Regions from separate parts of the Homo sapiens genome. Here all the other regions are linked to region 6. Evidence: promoter capture Hi-C in 16 types of primary human blood cells and fetal thymus (Javierre and others, 2016). All regions are on one chromosome and are shown on one strand. The core of a region is centred on a gene start or on the middle of the fragment in contact, and the rest is flanking DNA. Distances in the headings are between cores, read along the strand shown.

Evidence for each region. The method cuts DNA at HindIII sites, captures the fragments that hold promoters and counts their contacts. A CHiCAGO score of 5 or more calls a contact.
Region 1: a fragment that was not itself captured here is called in contact with the fragment with the promoter of ZNF699 in region 6 in 1 of 17 cell types (neutrophils); the score reaches 6.3 in neutrophils.
Region 2: a contact is called between a fragment that was not itself captured here and the fragment with the promoter of ZNF699 in region 6, in 3 of 17 cell types (neutrophils, naive CD8 T cells and monocytes). The highest score is 7.6, in neutrophils.
Region 3: a fragment that was not itself captured here is called in contact with the fragment with the promoter of ZNF699 in region 6 in 9 of 17 cell types (naive CD8 T cells, total CD4 T cells, non-activated CD4 T cells and 6 more); the score reaches 9.7 in naive CD8 T cells.
Region 4: the fragment with the promoter of ZNF562 here is called in contact with the fragment with the promoter of ZNF699 in region 6 in 4 of 17 cell types (naive CD4 T cells, fetal thymus, total CD8 T cells and 1 more); the score reaches 5.5 in naive CD4 T cells.
Region 5: a contact is called between a fragment that was not itself captured here and the fragment with the promoter of ZNF699 in region 6, in 4 of 17 cell types (naive CD8 T cells, total CD4 T cells, total B cells and 1 more). The highest score is 7.7, in naive CD8 T cells.

The regions. Positions count from the first base shown.
Region 1 is chr19:9,806,613-9,810,092 of GRCh38, forward strand. No RefSeq gene overlaps it. Among named protein-coding and RNA genes, the nearest start is that of FBXL12, 11 kb to the right of the region's middle. The HindIII fragment of the contact is 1,440 bases long and covers 840-2,279 here.
Region 2 is chr19:9,758,946-9,762,188 of GRCh38, forward strand. It overlaps ZNF846 (zinc finger protein 846), which reads right to left. Exons shown (of 6, transcript NM_001077624.3): 4 at 3,137-3,223; 5 at 915-997. Among named protein-coding and RNA genes, the nearest start is that of ZNF846, 8.2 kb to the right of the region's middle. The HindIII fragment of the contact is 4,547 bases long and covers 1-3,243 here.
Region 3 is chr19:9,567,911-9,571,257 of GRCh38, forward strand. It overlaps ZNF121 (zinc finger protein 121), which reads right to left. Exons shown (of 4, transcript NM_001008727.5): 2 at 1,092-1,172; 3 at 185-265. The coding sequence starts at 187. Among named protein-coding and RNA genes, the nearest start is that of ZNF121, 15 kb to the right of the region's middle. The HindIII fragment of the contact is 7,355 bases long and covers 1-3,347 here.
Region 4 is chr19:9,673,194-9,676,452 of GRCh38, forward strand. It overlaps ZNF562 (zinc finger protein 562), which reads right to left and starts at 1,907. Exons shown (of 6, transcript NM_001130031.2): 1 at 1,822-1,907. RefSeq lists enhancers at 876-2,075, 1,614-2,113, 1,792-1,851, 2,114-3,113. The HindIII fragment of the contact is 670 bases long and covers 1,563-2,232 here.
Region 5 is chr19:9,597,286-9,600,559 of GRCh38, forward strand. No RefSeq gene overlaps it. Among named protein-coding and RNA genes, the nearest start is that of ZNF121, 14 kb to the left of the region's middle. The HindIII fragment of the contact is 8,305 bases long and covers 1-3,274 here.
Region 6 is chr19:9,308,364-9,311,759 of GRCh38, forward strand. It overlaps ZNF699 (zinc finger protein 699), which reads right to left and starts at 1,475. Exons shown (of 6, transcript NM_198535.3): 1 at 987-1,475. RefSeq lists a silencer at 1,145-1,394 and an enhancer at 1,455-1,574. The HindIII fragment of the contact is 15,955 bases long and covers 1-3,396 here.

The DNA of each region.
Region 1 (3,480 bases), core at 310-2,809, 500 kb after region 6:
AAGACCATGTCTCAAAATAAATAAATAAAAATAAAATAATAATGTCAGCTATTGTGATTATGCTTTGCCTTCATTGGAGGGCAGTCCTGAAGCCCCCAGCCCCTTATCTGGGAGAAGGCAATGATTAGGGGTGGGGAGGTTCCAAAAGGGGAGAAGCTCTGTCTGATGTCCCATCACCCCATCACCCCTTGGGGCAAGGCCCATGTTAGAGGTCACTAAGGCAGAATGAATTCTCCATAGGGTAAGCCCAGGAAGAAGACACCTGTAACCAGTGGTATGCCACAGCTCAGGAGAGCCAAATGCTGAATCTTCAACTATTTTGTGAGCCAGTTGTTAAACTGTTGGTAGCTTGAAACCAGCTGTGGTGAGACAGTGTTTACACCATAGTAATCTGCAAATGCTACAGATCAGGGCCTTCTTCCCCCACCTGCTAGCACTGCCTGTAAACACTTACCTGCTTCAAAATTAATGCCTGCTGGCCAGTTGCAGCGGCTCACACCTGTAATCCCAGCACTTTGGGACGCTAAAGCAGGCGGATCACTTAAGGCCAGGAGTTTGAGACCAGCCTGGCCAACATGGTGAAACCCCATCTCCTAAAAATATAAAAATTGGCTGGGTGTGGTGGCATGTGCCTGTAATCCCAGGTACTCAGGAGGCTGAGGCAGGCTGCAGCATAAACCTTGGAGGCAGAGGTTGCAGTGAGCTGAGATCGCACCATTGCACTCCAGCTTAGGTGACAGAGTGAGACTAGCATCTCCAAAAAACAAACAAAAAAACTAAAACGAATGCCTGCTGCTCCCTCCCTTCCAACTGGAAAGGCAGAGAGGAAAAAGAAAGGAAGCTTTTTTGCCCTAGAGTTGTTCCAGGTTGGGGCATCGGCAATGCACTTCCAGAACCACCTGCAGAGTCCAGCACAGGGCTGGTGTTGAGTCACCCTCATGTTCTCCCAAACTGACCCCAGCTCTCCAGACACTCTCTGCAAGCAAAACAAACCTCATTTCCCTCCTTGTTCCCACAGGCTCTGAGACTTCACCAATCTCTGTTTCTACCTGGTTCAACCCAGCCCCCTGATGTCCTGGGCTGGAGCTGCTGGGGTGGTCACAGCATTGGACAATCAGACCTTGACTAGGGCCACATCAGGGGCACACTCATAGCCTAGTCCTCATGTGGCCAGATGGAGAAGGAATTTCAGGTGAGGTGGCTCATGCCTGTAATCCCAGTATTTTGGGAGGCCAAGGCAGGAGGATCATTTGCACTCAGGAGTTAGAGACCAGCCTGGGCAACACAGTGAGACCCCCATCTCTACAAAAAATAAAAAGTAGCTAGGTGTGGTGGCACATTCCTGTGGTCCCAGCTACTTGGGAGGCTGAAGTAGGATGGCTTGAGCCCAGGAGTTCGAGACCAGTCTTGGCAACATAGGGAGACTCCTGTCTCTGTCTGTCTACCTGTCTGTCTATCTATCTATCTATATTTATTTTTGAAACAGAGTCTCTCTCTGTTGCCCAGGCTGGAGTACAGTGGCACAATCTCGGCTCTCTGCAACCTCCTATCTATCTATCTATATTTATTTTTGAAACAGAGTCTCTCTCTGTTGCCCAGACTGGAGTGCAGTGGTACAATCTCGGCTCTCTGCAACCTCCCACTCCAGGGTTCAAGCGATTCTCCTGCCTCAGCCTCCTGAGTAGCTGGGATTATAGGCATGTGCCACCAAGTCCAGCTAATCTTTGTATTTTTAGTAGAGACGGGGTTTCACCATGTTGGCCAGGCTGGTCTCGAACTCCTGACCTCAGATGATCCTCCCGCCTTGGTGTCCCAAAGTGCTGGGATTACAGGCATGGGACACACCGTGCCTGGCCCCATCTCTATTTAAAAAAAAAAAAAAAAAAAAAAAAAAGGTTGGGCGCAGTGGCTCACACCTGTAATCCCAGCACTTTGGGAGGCCAAGGTGGGCAGATCACAAGGTCAGGAGTTTGAGACCAGCCTGACCAATATGGTGAAACTCCAACTCTACTAAAAATACAAAAATTAGCCAGGCATGGTGGCACACGCCTGTATTCCCAGCTACTTAGGAGGCTGAGGCAGGAGAATCATTTGATCCTGGGAGGCAGAGGTTGCAGTGAGCTAAGATTGCACCACTGCACCACTCCAGCCTGGGCAACAGATCAAGACTCCGTTTCAAAAAAAAAAAAAAAAGAGAGACAGAAAGAGAAGGAATTTCTACTGCAACTCTGAGTGGGAAGAGCATGGGAGGAACATCTCTGGCTCTTCTCTGATGGGTAAGCTTGGAATAAGAAACCAAGTGTACCCAGCTCAGCTCTCTTCTCCAACCTGGCTCTAAGCACCAGAGGAGGCACCTGGGCCTGCTGAGCAGGTGGTGAACCCACAGAGCCGGGGCTTAGCCACACACAGCAACGCTCATCTCACGGGTAGGCACTCACACTTATAATCTGACACCTGCATCTTTCAAGTGGTTCAGACTCGAAAGGCAGGAAAAGGTGGTGTTACTTACTGAACCCCTAAAGCCTGAGCCACCTGCAAGGCCCTGCCCACTCCTGTCCCCATTATCTCCTTTTGTTTTATTTTTTTTTTTTTTGAGACAGGGTCTCACTCTGTCACCCAGTCTGGAGTGCAGTGGTGATCACAGTTCACTGCAACCTCCGAGTCCCAGGCTTAAGCAATCCTCCCACCTCAGCCTCCTGAATAGCTGGGATACCAGCTGGGTAGATGCACACCACCACACCTGGCTAATTTTTTCTGTAGAGACAGGGTTTCACCATGTTGCCCAAGCTGGTCTCAAACTCCTGAACTCAAAGTGATTCACTTGCCTCAGATGTCCCAGGTTGGCCTTAAACTCCTGGGCTCAAGTGATCCACCCACCTCAGCCTCCCAAAGTGCTGGGTTTACACATGTGAGCCACCATGCCCGGCCCTGACCTCAACTTCGACAGCTCTTACCCCTGCTCACTCTGCCACACAACCTTCTTTCTGTTTCTGGAAAATGCCAAGTTCATTCTCATCTTAGCAGTGCTGGCCTTTCCTCTTCTGCCCTAGCTCTTCTGATCTTTGCTTTCTCTTCACCTCTCAGATCTCAGCACAGAGGCCTACCGTGCTCACTCAACCATGCAAGTATGCCTCCATCACGTGACCCTGGTGTACTGGCTCAGAGTCTCCAAAATTACAACATGGTGGCCGAGCGCAGTGGCTCACACCTGTAATTCCAGCACTTTGGGAGGCCGAGGTGAGCAGATCACGAGGTCAGGAGTTTGAGACCAGCCTGACCAACATGGTGAAACCCCATCTCTACTAAAGATACAAAAATTAGCTGGGCGTGGTGGCGGGTGCCTGTAATCCCAGCTACTTGGGAGGCTGAGGCAGGAGAATCACTTGAACCCGGGAGACGGAGGTTGCAGTGAGCCAAGATCGCACCACTGCACTCCAGCCTGGGTGACAGAGTGAGACTCTGTCCCCACACAAAAAAACT
Region 2 (3,243 bases), core at 369-2,868, 450 kb after region 6:
GCCTGCCTATATTCTCTGCATTCACAGAGCTTCTTAGACAATCTGTCTGATATTTATTTATTTATTTATTTAAGAAAGATTCTCACTCTGTCACCCAGGCTGAAGTGCAGTGGCACGATCTTGACTCACAGCAATCTCTGCCTCCCAGTTCAAGGGATTCTCAGGCCTCAGCCTCCCAAGTAGCTAGGATTACAGGCATGTGCCACTATGCCCAGCTAATTTTTGTATTTTTAGTAAACACAGATTTTTGCCATGTTGACCAGGCTAGTCTCCAACTCCTGGCCTCAAGTGATCTGCCCGCTTTGGCCTCCCAAAGTGCTGGGATTACAGGCATTAGCCACAATACATCTGAGAATTATTTAGACTAAATTATGGGCTGGGCACAGTGGCTCATGACTGTAATCCCAGCACTTTGGGAGGCCAAGGCAGGTGGATTGCTTTGAGCTCAGGAGTTTGAGACCAGCCTGGACAAAATGGTGAAACCCCATCTCTACAAAAAAAAAAATAATCAGCCAGGCATGGTGGCTCATGCCTGTAGTCTCAGCTATTCAGGAGGCTGAGGCTGGAGGATCATTTGAGCCCAGGAAACAGAGGTTGCAGTGAGCCAAGACTGCACCATTGCACACCAGCCTGAGCAACAGAGTAAGACCTTGTCTCAAAAATAATAATAAAGTAAAAGAAATTATGCACAAAAAACTGAATAGCTGAGTTGTATGTTTGTGGATGTTTATTTGTGAGATCTCTGAGAAGAAATATGTTTGTAGTAAGTTTAGAGTGCTTCCCATATTCATGATATTCAGAGAATCTCTTCAGACTTTGTTTTCTCTGGGTAAATGCCATTTTCCTCATATAATTTTCATGAATATTGTGCTTCTTGTCCTAGTGTGGAAGATTTCATCCCTTGGAAATCTTACCAATTGTACTCCATTTGGTGATCTTTCTGCAGAAATATCTTGCAGCAGTGGGGAGCCTTTGGTTTTGAGTTGCAAATCCAATTCTGAAATAAAGTGAAAAATGCAGCTTGGGAGAAAAATTGTGGAATAAAGTCGTTTAAAAGCCTATGGGGCTGGGCGTGGTGGCTCACACCTGTAATCCTAGCACTTTTGGAGGCCTAGATAGGTGGCTTACCTGAGGTTAGGAGTTCAAGACCAGCCTGGCCAACATGGTGAAACACTGTCTCTACTAAAAATACAAAAAATTAGCCAGGTGCAGTGGTGCATGCCTGTAATCCCAGCTACTCAGGAGGCTGAGGCAGGAGAATCACTTGAACCCAGAGGGTGGAGGTTGCGGTGAGGTGAGATCCACCACTGCACTCCAGCCTGGGCTACAGAGCAAGACTTCGTCTCAAAAAAAAAAAATGCCTAAGGAACAGACATAGCATAATCAAATGTGGCAGAGTGAAGAACTACAGGGCTCTTTCCTACCACAATATGACTAATAAGTTCAGAAAACCTATCAGAATCAACTGTGCTGGGCTGGGTGTGGTGGTTCATGCCTATAATCCCAGCACTTTGGGAGGTCAAGGTAGGTGGATCACTTGAGTTCAGGAGTTCGAGACCAGCCCGGCCAACATGGTGAAGTGCTGTCTCTACTAAAAATACAAAAATTGGCCAGACATGGTGGTGTACACCTGTAATCCCAGCTACTCAAGTGGCTGAGTCATGAGAATCACTTGAAACCAGGAGGCAGAGGTTGCAGTGAGTCAAGATCATGCCATTGCACTCCAGCCTGGGTGACAGAGTGAGACTCTGTGTCAAAAAAGAAAAAAATATATATATACATATATATATAGCTAAGTGAAAGAAGCTAGAGAGAAAAGGTTACATTGTATGATTCCATTTATATAAGATATACAGAAAGGGTAAATCCGTAGAGAGAGAAAGCAAATTAGTCTCTGTAGGGTGAGTGGGGACTGACTACTTGATGGGTATATGGTTTCCTTTTGGTGTGATGGTAATGCTTTGAAACTAGACCAAGCACACTGGCTCATGCCTGTAATCCCAACACTTTGGGAGACGGAGGCAGGTGGGTCACTTGAGGTCAGGAGTTTGAGACCAGCCTGGCCAACATGGTGAAACTCCATCTCTATCAAAAAACACAAAAATTCACCAGGCATGGTGGCGCACGCCTGTAGTCCCAACTACTCAGAAGGCTGAGGCAGGAGAATCACTTGAAGCCAGGAAGCTGATGGAGGTTGCAGTGAGCCAAGATGGCTCCACTGGACTCTATCCTGGGCAACAGAGAGAGACTCTGTCTCAAACAAACAAACAAACAAAGAAATGCCTTGAAACTAAAAAGAGCTGATAGCTACACAACACTAAAATGGTAAATTTTTGTATATTTTACCTAAAAAAAGTATATGGCACATTTGTATATCTTTCCAAACATGCATAAAACATGATTAAAAAAAAAAAGAGTGAAGCAAATGGAAAGATGGACTATAAAGAGTTTGGCTATGTCAGAAGTTTTGCAATGGTAAAGATATGGTGTCAAAACTATCACTACACCTGTAATGCCAGCACTTTGGGAGGCTGAGGCAGGTGAATCACAAGGTCAGGAGTTCGAGAACAGCCTGGCCAACATAGTGAAATCCCATCTCTACAAAAATACAAAAAATTAGTTGGGCGTGGTGTCAGGTGCCTGTAATCTTAGCTACTTGGGAGGCTGAGGCAGGAGAATTGCTTGAACCCAGGAGGTGGAGGTTGCAGCAAGCCAAGATCATGTCACTGCACACCAGCCAGGGCGACAGTGCAAGACTCCATCTCAAAAAAAAAAAAAACCTGTATTACTTATTATCCAACTAATAATATGCAGAAAACTGAGGCTGGTAGTAAGCAAAAAGATGGGAGAATCAAGAAAGCAATATAAGAAGGTGTTGGCAAAGGACCTACATGCATAAGATGGAATTTTCAAATAAGGCAGACAAACCTTTCTGAGAACAGAAAAGAGGTTGAGAAGATCAATGGAAATTTAAAGATGAGGGGAGTTGAAAGTATCTAAGGAAACCAAATGGCCTCAGCCTTCTCAGGAAGAAGAGTATACCCTGAGAAGTTCGCAAAGTAACATTTCCAATGTACTGCATGTCTCCTAGGGTGGCACAGCAGTGCCATAATACCACATCTGCTTATGAACTCACCCTGCAGAACTCCTGTCACTCCTGTCCTCAGCTCTTCCATTTGTTCCAATCCAGACATGAGACTACGTTTGAATAATTCAGACCCTGCTGGAGGGAAAAATGCACAA
Region 3 (3,347 bases), core at 735-3,234, 260 kb after region 6:
TCCTGCTGTGCAGCCCAGTTCCTAACACTAACAGAAACAGTACCAGTGGGGACCCTTGCTCTAGAGACATTCCTCCTGCTTGAGTAAATGTTACCTCTCTCAAATATCTCTCATTTTTGCTGATTTTTTATAATTGAATCCCAATCTTTTTTTGAGTGTGGTAAATAAGAAATCTTAATCTTACCATTTGTATGCCGTTTGATGTTTTGTTAAGCCAAAAAAAAATGTTGTTGAGGTGCTGACACTTTGGTTTTAACTTGCCATTCTGAAGTAAAACAGAAAAAAAGAAAAAAAAATAGGGTCTGAGAACAAAACAGTAGGTTAAATAAGTCAGAATTATAAAGCTCATTTTTATTTGTCATATTCAGCACACTCAAAAAAATTAAACAGACATAGATTTGAACAGTTTATCCATGACGAACATTTGGCAATCGTAAGGACTTGGGGTCTAAACTTAGTAATTTTTTTTTTTTTTGAGACAGAGTCTCGCTCTGTCACCCAGACTGGAGTGCTGGAGTGCAGTGGCATGATCTCGGCTCACTGCAACCTCCACCTCCTGGGTTCAAGCGATTCTCCTGCCTCAGCCTCCGAGTAGCTTGGATTACAGGTGCCCACCACCAGGCCCGGCTAATTTTTGTATTTTTAGTAGAGACGGGGTTTCTCCATGTTGGCCAGGCTGGTCTCAACTCCTGACCTCAAAAGATCCACCCGCCTCAGCCTCCCAAAGTGCTGGGATTACAGGCATAAGCCACCATGCCCAGCAATTTAGTAATTTTTTAAACAATTTATTCTATAGAAATTAAATGAGATAATGAACAGAAATAGTATTAGGGAAGGAAAATAGAAATGATCTGGATAAAGAGCACACATTAAAGTCATAAACAAAAAGATAAAAGAGCACTCATTTGCAAAATCACATGAAAGTCTGGGTTAGATGAAAAAGAGAGGAATATGGAAAGTTGAAGATACCCTAAAACTTCCAAGTCCAATGGCCCCATGTTCTGTGACAAAGTACATCTTTTAAATATATCTTCATTATGCTTCCAAACATACTGAACTTCTCATTGACCAGGAGTGTTCTTCATACTCACCTTGGGGAACTCCGGTTGGCAATGTGCTCAACTTTTCCTTCTCCTCCTCCAGTCAAGAGACAGACTGAGTTTGAATAGGTCCTGTACAGAGGGAAAGATACATCAATGGAAGAGGCTTATGAAGGAAATGACAAACGTAACCAAGAAAAAAACAACTATATTCCTAAAGAGAGTAGTGAAACTATTTTAAAAGAGCTCAAATTTCATATATCTCATCCTTTTGTGCCCTGAGGAGTTGGTTATCTCTGACCAAATACCCACTATTCAGACTTAAATACACATTTAAAAACCATTAAAGACTGGGCGCAGTGGCTCATGCCTGTAATCCCAGAACTTTGGGAGGCTGAGGTGGGAGAATCACCTGAGCCTGGGGAGGTTGAGGCTGCAGTGAGTCATGATTGCACCACTGTACTCCAACCTAGGTGACAAAGTGAGACCCTGTCTTAAAAAAAATAAAATAAAAACCATTAAAACGTGTATTCAAATAGGAAATAATCCAAGTGCAAAGAGAGATCATTATTTTGTTTTCTGGTTTTGTTTTTTTTTTTGAGACAGAGTCTCACTCTGTCACCCAGGCTGGAGTGCAATGGCACTGTCTCAACTCACTGCAACCTCCACCTCCCAGGTTCAAGTGATTCTCCTGCCTCAGCCTCGTGAGCAGCTGGGGTTACAGGCACCCACCATCAGGTCTGGCTAATTTTTTTGTATTTTTATAGAGACAGGGTTTCACCACATTGGCCAGGCTTGTCTTGAACTCCCGACCTCAGGTGATCCGCCCACCTCAGCCTCCCAAAGTGCTGGGATTGCAGGTGTGAGCCACCACGCCTGGCCGAGATCTTTTTTTTTTTTTTTTTTTTTACGATATCGTCAAAAGCTCGAATATTGTGTCTTTTGTAGCTTTTCTTATATCATGGGTAGTATTACATCTCTCTCTCTCTCTCTTTTTTTTCTTTTTGAGAGATTTTTGCTCTGTCCCCCAGGCTGGAGTGTAGTGGCACAATCTTCGCTCACTACAACCTCTGCCGCCGCCCACCCTAGTTCAAGCAATACAAAAATTAGCAGGGCGTGGTGGCACGTGCCTGTAGTCCCAACCACTCAGGAGGCTGAGGCAGGAGAATCGCTTTTACTCAGGAAGCAGAGGCTGCAGTGAGCCGAGATCATGCCACTGCACTCCAGGCTGGGCAACAGAGCAAGATTCCATCCAAAAACAAAAGAATCAGAGAGCTTCTTTAGGACACCCCTGAAATAAAGTTATTTCTTATGTTCTCAGGGCTGAAATTGTTATAATTAATGAGGCTCATATGCCAGAGCTTCCCTGGCATAATGTGAAGGAGGGAATCCTAGAGAGACAGGAGTGTTGCACTGGATTTACTATGTGTCATCTGTATAGCCCACTCCCCCGCCCTTTGTTGACAGAGCAGAAGACACTCTCTTCACAAAGGTTATTAAGAGAGTAGTGGCGGGAGTGTCGTAATCCTTGAAAAGCTCTGTTGGTATTCTCCTTCATAGGACAGGTATGACTGCAAAGAATACCATCACTGAGATGAGTTCCCTGGGTTTTTTTGTTTGTTTGTTTGTTTTTGAGACGGAGTTTTGCTCTTGTTGCCCAGGATGGAGTGCAATGACGCAGTCTAGGCTCACTGCAACCTCCGCCTCCTGGGTTAAAGCGATTCTCCTGCCTGAGCCTCCCAAGTAGCTGGGATTACAGGCACCTGCCACCACACTTGGCTAATTTTTTGCGAGGGGGGGGGGTATTTTTAGTACAGACGGGGTTTAACCATATTGGCCAGGATGGTCTAGAACTCCTGGCCTCAGGTGATCTGCCCGCCTCAGCCTCCCAAAGTGCTGGGATTACAGGCGTGAGCCACCGCACCCAGCCGAGTTCCCTGCTTTCAATCGAGATGAAGGGGACCCAGAATAGCAGAAATCAAGAAGGTAGTATTTAATCACCAAACACAAGGTGAGAAAATCAACTATCAAGGACAGTGGAAATGTACCAGTAATCAGAATGCCCTGACCTACAGAGATCTGTGGTGGTGGCTAACTGATCGTGCTGTCCCTAGAAATGAAATAGATAAGCAGTTAACAAAGCCTACTCTAAAGAGCCACAAAATATATGTTAGGCATTATGGGCCACATGGTCTCTGTTGCAGCTACTCAACTCTGCTGTTGTAGCATGGAAAATACCATAGAAAATGTAAACAAATGAACACGGTTGTGTTCTGATTAAACTTTATATACAAAAAACACATGGAG
Region 4 (3,259 bases), core at 657-3,156, 370 kb after region 6:
GGGTCAGTTTAGATTCTGCGGTCTGACCCTAACCCACGGGGGAGAGACACAGAAGTAGGGACCCAGCGTTAGAAATAAAAACCCCTTCCCCTCCCTTATCTGGTGTACTCTCGCCATCACTCCATCCACGAGACTCACCCTTCTATAGAAATAAATTGCGTTGCTGAGAAAACTTTTGCCTGAGTGCTGGTTTCACTTTGCAGCACCCAGCGTTTTATTTTTTTATCTCCAACAGCTGGGATTACAGGGGCCCACCACCAAGCCCGGCTAATTTTTGTATTTTTAGTAGAGACAGGGTTTTACCATGTTGGCTAGGCTAGTCTGGATCTCCTGACCTCAGGTGATCCGCCTGCCTCTGCCTCCCAAAGTGCTGTGATTACAGGTGTGAGCCAGTGCATCTGGCCTGGCTTTAAGTAGAAAGGCTTGCAGCTGGTAACAATTAGAAAAAAAATAACCTGCAAGAAAATAAAAATTAAAAACTAAAGGCTTAGTCTACACGCGTTCATATTTACATACAAAAACGGGCACACCCTAAACAACTATGTTTTTTCCATCTGAATGTAATGTGTCAAAAATAAGTGGCGGGTGGATCACTTGAGGTCAGGAGTTCGAGACCAGCCTGGCCAACATGGTGAAACCCCATCTCTACCAAAAATATAAAAAATTAGCCAGGTGTGGTGGTGCACGCCTGGAATCCCAGCTACTCGGGAGGCTGAGGCAGGTGAATCATGTTATAAAGTTTTCATGCCACAAAAAAAAAGCACTCAAATATAACATTTTCTTTTCTCAGCAAGGCAATTTACTTCTACAGAAGGGTGTGCCCTCACAGATGGAGCAATGGTGAGCACACACCAGGACAAGGGAGGGGAAGGGGTTCTTATTCTTGAGGAAAGTGGCCCCTGCCGCTTTGTCCTTCCCCGATGGCTAGGGTTAGACCCCACAGGCTAAACTAATTCCAATTGGCTAATTTAAAGAGAGTGACAGGGTGAGTGGTTTGTTGGGGAAAATGGTTATAACAGAGCAGGAAATTGGAATGAGTCAGGGTGGAAAATGAGTCAGGGTGGAGTAAGTAATCGAAATAAGTCTGGGTGGAGCAGGTAATCAGAATGAGTCAGGGTGGAGCAGGTGATCGAAAAAGGTTGCTTTACGGAGAAGTTTAAAAGTAGAAGGCAAAGAATTAAACATACTGACATATTGATTTTTTAAAAAGAAATTTAAAACTCATATCTAACAATCACTTGAACCCGGGAGGTGAAAGTTGCAGTGAGCCAACATCGTGCCACTGCACTCCAGCGTGGGCGACAGAGTAAGACTCCAAATCAAAAAAAAAAAAAAAGTAAAGGACATCAAGACAACGCCAGATTCTCAGATGAGACATTTTTTAGCAAATAAATGGAAGTCACAGCCCTCTTGAAACCATTTTTCCGCCGTTGCTCACCAGGAACATGCCGGAAGAGATAGGTTCCAGACGCGGGAGAATGCGGGGCCAGAGCCAACCTCACCAGAAGGGCAGAAATCCTTTTCCTTTCGGAAAGAAAAAAACTCCCAAAGGTTGCTTTCCAAGCTTTTCAAGAGAGGAGCACAGCGGATGAAAGTACTCAAGAAAACACCCGGCGGAGGCGGAACAAACACACTTCCCGACGCAGCCAGACGGACTGTGCGGCCTCTCGGAACTGGCCAGAGGCCGCACCAGGAGGACTGACAGCCCCTAGAAAAGCGAGTGAAACTAGGCGGATCTGAGAGGCTCCTGGGCGACCACGCCCAATCCTTCCTTTGCCGCCCCGCTGGTATGTCCCGGACCCCCAAGCAGGTAGAACTCACCACAGCGGGGTGGACTCCACCACAATAAAGGTTAAACGGCACTGACCATGCTGAGCCACAGCCGGTAAAGATGGCGGTGGCACACTGACGTCACTTCCGCTCCGAGCCTCCGGCCGGGTGGGGCTCCAGGGCTTGAGTTTCAGGCACGTAGGACAAAGAAATTCTAGTTTCCTCCTGGGTGGGTGCCGGACAGTGCCTGGGGTTGGCTCAGGGAGCGGGATGCAGAAACGGGTTCAGAGAAAAAGATGAGTTTAGAACCGGACCTCTGGACGGAACCGTGGGCGAGGGGTGGGGCCCATATTTGGGGGCGGTTTAGAGGTGGGACCCGGCCTAGCCCGCGTTTCAGGTGCCCAGACGGGTTGGAAAGGCGGGGATGGGGGATGGGACGCACCCCAGAGGATGCTCCTCCAAAGCTTATCCTGGGCGGGCTCAGTGGCTCACGCCTGTAATTCCAGCACTTTGGGAGGCTAAGGCAGGTGGATAGCTTGAGTCCAAGAGTTCCAGACCAGCCTGAGTGAAATAGCAAGACCGTGTGTCTTTTTTTTTCTTTTCTTTTTTTTTTTTTTTTTTTTTTTGAGACAGAGTTTCACTCTTGTTGCCCAGGCCTGTGCCCGGCTCGACCCTGTCTCTATTAAAATATATATATAAGGCCAAGCGCCAGTGGTTCACGCCTGTAATCCCTGCACTTTGGGAAGCCAAGGCGGGCGGATCACCTGAGGTCGGGAGTTTGACACCAGCCTGGCCAACATGCTGAAACCCCGTCTCTACTAAAAATACAAAAAAATAGCTGGGTGTGGTGGCAGGCGCTTGTAATCCCAGCTACTCAGGAGGCTGAGGCAGGAGAATCGCTTGAACCCGGGAGGCGGAGGTTGCGGTGAGCCGAGGTTGCGCCACTGCACTCCAATCTGGGGGACAAGAGCGTGACTTCATCTCAAAAAGAAAAAATATATATATATGTGTGTGTGTGTGTGTGTGTGTGTGTGTGTGTGTGTGTGTCAAGCTTTTTTGTATGCCGCTCCTCATGTTCCTGGAGCCTTTCCATGATTCTTCCATATTAAACCTGCCAGTGATAGATGGCATGGTCTGTCTCTTCCATTCAGTCATTCTTTCTGTAGGCCTTTATTTTTTCTTTTTCTTTTTCTTTTTTTTTTTTTTTTGAGACGGAGTCTCTCTCTGTCCCCCAGGCTGGAGTGCAGTGGTGCAATCTCGGCTCACTGCAAGCTCCGCCTCCTGGGTTCACACCATTCTCCTGCCTAGCCTCCTAAGTAGCTGGGACTACAGGCGCCCGCGACCACAACCAGCTAATTTTTTTGTATTCTTAGTAGAGACGGGGTTTCACGGTGTTAGCCAAGATGATCCCCATCTCCTGACCTCATGATCCACCCGCCTCGGCCTCCCAAAGTGCTGGGATTACAGGCGTGAGCCACCGCGCCCAGCC
Region 5 (3,274 bases), core at 230-2,729, 290 kb after region 6:
GCAAAGAATTGAGCATACTGACATATTAATTCTTTGAAGGGAAACTTCGAATTCACACTCAACAACTCTAAAGTGATTCTCTATCCTTGGCCTCCCACATTTCTTTTTTTTTTTTTTGAGACAGACTCTCACTCTGTTGCCAGGCTGGAGTGCAGTGGACTGATCTCAGCTCACTGCAACCTCTGCCTCCTGGGTTCAAGTGATTCTCATGCCTCAGCCCCCCAAGTAGCTGGGACTACAGGTGCCAGCCACCACGCCCAGTGAATTTTCGTATTTTTAGTAGAGACGGGGTTTCACCATGTTGGCCAGGATGCTCTTGATCTCCTGACCTTGTGATCCACCTGCCAAGGCCACCCAAAGTGCTCAGATTACAGGCATGAGCCACCATGCTCAGCCTTGGCCTCCTACATTGTTGGGATTACAGACATGAGCCACTGTGCTTGGCCCTTTATTCCTTTACATATTTAATATTTTAAAAAATTAACAAAGAGGCCAGGCACAGTGGCTCAGGCCTTTAATCCCAGCACTTTGGGAGGCTGAGGTGGGTGGATTACGAGGTCAGGAGTTCGACACCAGCCTGGCCAATATGGTGAAACCCCATCTCTACTAAAAAATACAAAAATTAGCTGGGCATGCTGGTGCGTGCCTGTAGTCCCAGATACTCAGGAGGCTGAGACAGGAGAATTGCTTGAACCCAAGAGGCAGAGGTTGCAGTGAGCCAAGATCGCTACACTGCACTCCAGCCTGGGTGCAGAGACTCCATCTCAAAAAAATAAGTAAATAAATAAACACCACACCCAATCAGCTCAAGCCTGTGGCTAGAGATAAGAATGCAGAAAGAATTGGCCAGGCGCGGTGGCTCACGCCTGTAATCCCAGCACTTTGGGAGGCCGAGGCGGGTGGATCACGAGGTCAGGAGATTGAGACCATCCTGGCTAACACAGTGAATCGCCGTCTCTACTAAAAACACACACAAAAAAATTAGCCGGGCGTGGTTGTGGGCACCTGTACTCCCAGCTACCCAGGAGGCCAAGGCAGAATGGAGTGAACCCGGGAGGCAGAGCTCGCAGTGAGCCGAGATCACACCACTGCACTCTAGCCTGGGTGACAGAGCAAAACTGTGTCTCAAAAAAAAAAAAATCTAGAAAGAATCTAGAGACATCTTTCCTGCCCAAGATAGTGTTTTCCTCCTACTTCCTTTAAACTGACTATCCATGTATTTGCTCCTAAATTTAAAGTGACTCACACCCTATTCCCTTATGTATACAGCTAGCTGCCACAACCTCCCTCCTTCTCTGCCTCTCATCCCTGCCTTGCGTGACCCATGGATGGAAGACTGTCCTCAAAACTCATTTTGCCCTCCCTTCCCAGGACGTGTAAGCAATAAATCTTTGAAATTATGTCCTATTGGGGTGGTGTTTTGAATTTGCACATACCATCTGAAGAACCAGGGGCCGCCCCTGGTTGAGATTTCCCCAGGGAGCTGGTGGGGACACAAGGTCAGGTTTCCAGTGTCAGAGTGATGATCAGGCAGGCATAAACTGAACACAGGTCAGACAAGAGCAGCTATGTCGCTGGGCACGGTGACTCACGCCTGTAATCCCAGCACTTTGGGAGGCCAAGGTGAGCGGATCACCTGAGGTCAAGAGTTTGAGACCAGCCTGGCCAACATGGTGAAACCTCGTCTCTACTAAAAATACCAAAAATATTAGCTGGGTGTGGTGGCATATGCCTGTAGTCCCAGCTACTCGGGGAGGCTGAGGCAGGAGAACTGCTTGAACCCAGGAGGCGGAGGTTGAAGTAAGCCAAGATCGGGCCACTGCGCTCCAGCTTGGGAGACACAGGGAGACTCCATCTTAAAAAAAAAAAAAAAAAAAAAAAAAAGAGCGGCCTAGGTCATCTATCAGTATAAACAAGTTTCCCAGGTGAGGGACCCCCTGTCAACCAGGTTTTGCGTGACAACTCACACTGTAATCCCAGCACTTTGGGAGGCTGAAGCAGGCAGATCACTTAGCTAAGGAGTTCCAGACCAGCATAGCCAACATGGCGACACCCCGTCTCTACTAAAAATACAAAAATTAGCCCAGCATGGTAGTGGAGGCATGTAATCCAAGCTACTTGGGAGGCTGAAGCAGGAGAATCGCTTGAGCTCTGGAGTGGCAGGTTGCAGTGAGCTGAGATCACGCTACTGCACTCCATCCAGCCTGGATGACAAAGGCAGACTCTGTCATTCATCAATCAATAAATAATTAATTAACTTTAAAAAATGTATCCCTTAGGCCAGTCGTGGTGGCTCACTCCTGAAATCCCAGCACTTTGGGAGGCTGAGGCGGGCAGATCGCCTGAGGTCAGGAGTTTGAGACCAGCCTGACCAACATGATGAAACCCCATCTCTAATAAAAATACAATATTAGCCGGGTGTCGTGGTTCATGCCTGTAGTCCCAGCTACTCAGGAGGCTGAGGCAGGAGAATCGCTTGAATCCAGGAGGCAGAGGTTGCAGTCAGCCAAGATCAAGTCATTGCACTCCAGCCTGGGCAACACAGCAAGACTCCATCTCAAGAATGCAATGGAATGGAATGGAATGAATGGAATGGAATGGAATGGAATGGAATGGAATGGAATGGGCCGGGCATGGTGGCTCACGCCTGTAGTCCCAGCACTTTGGAAGGCCAAAGCGGGTGGATCACCTGAGGTCAGGAGTTCGAGACCAGCCTGACCAGTATGGTGAAACCCCATCTCTACTAAAAATACAAAAATAACCCCAGCTACTTGGGAGGCTGAGGCTGGAGAATTGCTTGAACCTGGGAGACAGAGGTTGCAGTGAGCCGAAATTGCGCCACTGCACTCCAGCCTGGGCGATAGAGGGAGACTCCATCTCAAAAAAAAAAAAAAAAAAAAAAAAGAATAGAATAGAATAGAACAGAATAGAATAGAATAGAATGGAAATAATGCTGAGTGCAGTGGCTCACGCCTGTAATCCTAGCACTTTGGGAGGCTGAGGCAGGCGGATTGCCTGAACTCAGGAGTTCAAGACCAGCCTCAGCAACATGGTGAAACCCCGTCTCTACTAAAATACAAAAAAAAAAAAAATTAGCCAGGCGTGGCGGATGTGCCTATAGTCCCACCTACTTGGGAGGCTGAGGCAGAATTGCTTAAACCGGAGAGGCGGAGGTTGCAGTAAGCTGATATTGCGCCACTGCACTCCAGCCTGGGCAACAGAGCGACACTCTGTCTCAAAAAAAAAAAAAAAAATTAAATTAAATTAAAAAAAA
Region 6 (3,396 bases), core at 225-2,724:
TCATAAGGAGAATATAGAAAAAATTTAAGGAATAAATATGAAGATGCACAGGTAATTAATGAATTTCTAGAAAGTAGTACAACTTTCAAGCAGTGATCTAAAACCTGATTACACCCAGTAATTAAAGAAAAAAAAATCAGCGGTTTAAAACACGGTCAGGCCGGGTGCAGTGGCTCATGCCTGTAATTCCAGCACTTTGGGAGGCGGAGAGCCCATGAGTTCGAGACCTGCCCGGGCAACAGAGCGAGACTCCTATTTTCTAAAAAGAAATAGGAATAAAGAAAGGAAAAAAACCTACAAACACCTACAGCAAACATCCTATTTAATGGTGAAATGATAGAATAATTCCCTCTGGAATCAGAAACAAGACAGGATGTAAATTACATGCTATTCTGTCGGACATTGTACTGGAGGTCCTGGCAAGTGCAGTAAAGAAATGAAAAGAAATGGAAACTGCAAGGAATAAAAAGGGAAAAGATTGAAACTGACAGATGACCAAATTTTCTGTGTGAAATTTAACCAATCTATAGACAAATGATTCAAATGCATCATTAATGACAAAATGCATCAGTTCACTTTCACTTGAATATAATGTATCAAACTGATGTCCACAGGCAGAATATAATATCCAGAGACCAAATACTATCTTTTTGTTTTTTTGAGACAGTGTCTCGCTCTGTTGCCCAGGCTGGAGTGCAGTGATGCGATCTCAGCTCACTGCAACCTCTGCCTCCCGAGTAGCTGGGAACACAGGAGAGCACCTTTTATTTTACTTTTTTTTTTTTTTTTTTTTTTGGTAGAGACGGGATCTTGCTATGTTGCCCAGGCTGGCCTCAAACTCCTGGGCTCAAGCGATCCGCCCGCCTCGGCCGCCCAAAGTGCTGGGATTACAGGCGTGAACCACCGCGCTTGGCCCAAACACTACCTAATGCATAAAGAGGGGACAGGAGGGGACCGAGCCGAGGCAAATGTCACCCCGTGCTCACCCGACACGCCGCGATCCACAGATCAGCTCACAGAGAACGAGGCTGAAGCGCTTGTCCTTGAGACACGAATGGCAGAGATGCTCTTCCTTTCTGGAAAGAGAGCAAAGGATGCTTTCGGAGGCTGATGAACTACGACATTGGTTCTCCAACTCTCGCCTGCATCAGAATCACCCCGATTTCTGTACCCAGACCAGAGTTCCCGATTCAGTGAGTTTGGGACCAGCCGCGGCCACAGGGGCAGCTGACCCGGGCTCTCTGAGGAGGCGCCGCGGCGGCGGGAGGCCCCGGGCGCGGGGTCCGGACAAGGAGTGGCGGGGAGGCAGCCCTTAGACCGCCGATTCCCAAACCCAGCCCTCGGTCTCCCGCGGACCCGACCCGGGGCAGGCAGGGCGGGGCGGGGCAGGGCAGGACAGGAAGCGGGCGGAGGCAAAAATGTTCCTCAGACGCGGGCGGAGGCGTAGGGTGACAAGGCTGTCGACTCGCGCATGCGCAGAAGCACACTTCTGATTCCTCTTTCGGCGCTGCAAATGGCGTATGGGGCGGGGCCTGGGAAGCGGGACTTGAGGTGAAGGGGGTGGAGCAGGTAGGAGCGGGATGCAAAGGAGCGCCAAGGCTGGTTCCAGCCGCAAGTGGATGAGAAATCCTAGTTTCTTCATGATTTGGAGTAAACAGAGAAGAAACAGAACCCTGAACTGGACTTGCATGACTCGGCCTGAGGGGCGGAACTGGGGCTAGACCTAGGGGCGTGGCCTTTTAAATACTCCAAGGGGCGGGGCTAAAGGTGGAACCAGATTGGGAGCGGGGCTTGGTAGAAATTCCTAGGGGGCGGAGACGAGGGCTGGGCGGGGCTTAAGTGACAAGGCCTAGGGATGGGGCTAAGGCTAGGGCTTCCCATCCAGGTTCTCAGCTACCACGGATACAGGATGCTCATCGATCGGGTTTCTACCTATCCTCCACGTTGCTACAGTCCTGTACACAGGACACATATATTTGCAGCTCTAATAGGAAACAGACTCTCCTTGACACTCACTCAGTCCTTTTGGGCCTTTTAGTTTTCCCTTTCATTGTTGTATTGATAACTTCTCCTGTAGAGGGAAGCCATTGATAATTATTTAAATAGAACCTTTTTCCTGGAAACTTGCTGAATTCTGATAGCTGTCAGTTTATTATTTGAACCATCAAATATAAATATTTTCTCTGCATATTTTCATTGTTTTAATGTGTATAACTCATTTCTTTATGTGAGGCAATGTCTCATTCTATCGCCTAGACTGGAGTGCAGTGGCGCGACCATGGCTCACTGCAGCCTTGACTTCCCCAGCTCAAGTGATGGTCCCATCTCAGCCCCCCAAGTAGCTGAGAATACAGTCGCGTACCACCCCACCCAGCTATTTTCTTTATTTTTTTGTAGAGATGGGATCGCACTATGTTGCTGAAGCTGGTCTCAAACTCCTGAGCTCAAGCTATCCTCTCACCTCAGCCTCCCAGAGTGCTAGGGGTACAGGTGTAAGCCACCACACCCAGAGTCATTTCTTTTTCTTATTGTTTGTTTAGGGCTTCCTCAACTATAAGTCGGAAAGAAATTAAGCATTCTTGTCTTGGTCGGTAATGATTACCAAAGTTCCTCAGTAAGCTGTTTACAACAGGTTGCACCTCTTATCAAGTTAATCTTTTTAAACCAGGTTTATAAAGATATTTTATCAATAATTTTTTATGAACACTATCAAATGTTTATGCAACAATTGAGTTGATAACATAATTTTGCTCCTCTTAGTTTATAATATGATATCCATATAAAATATTTAATTTTAGGCAAGGCGCAGTGGCTCATGCCTGTAATCCCAGCACTTTGGGAGGCCGAGGCCGGTGGATTACCTGAGGTCAGGTGTTCAAGACCAGCCTGGCTACCATGGTGAAACCCCATCTCTACTAAAAATACAAAAAATTAGCTGGGCATGGTGGCGGGTGCCTGTAATCCCAGCTACTCAGGAGGCTGAGGCAAGGAGAATCGCTTGAACCTGGGAGGCAGAGGTTGCAGTGAGCTGAGATCGCGCCATTGCACTCCAGCCTGGGCGACAATAGAAAGACTCCATCTCAAAAATATATATATTCAATTTTATATATCCCCAATGAATCTATACTTTTAGTAAAATGGTTTCTGAGTTTCCTAGTTTGCTTTTAAATGTCTCCCCAAACTCTAAAATATAAAAATACTTCCTAATTTACTTCCAAATTGTACTGCTTTTTAAAACGTATAATTCTTTACTGCTCAGGGAATGTATTTTGGTATAATATGAGGTAGAGATGTGTTATATAAGTGAACCACAGGTGGCCTTTCTGTATTGGTCCCTAGGTTGTTCATTACTTCTTCACTGCGGCTTGAGGTCACCTTCCCAATGCCTGTCCCTGG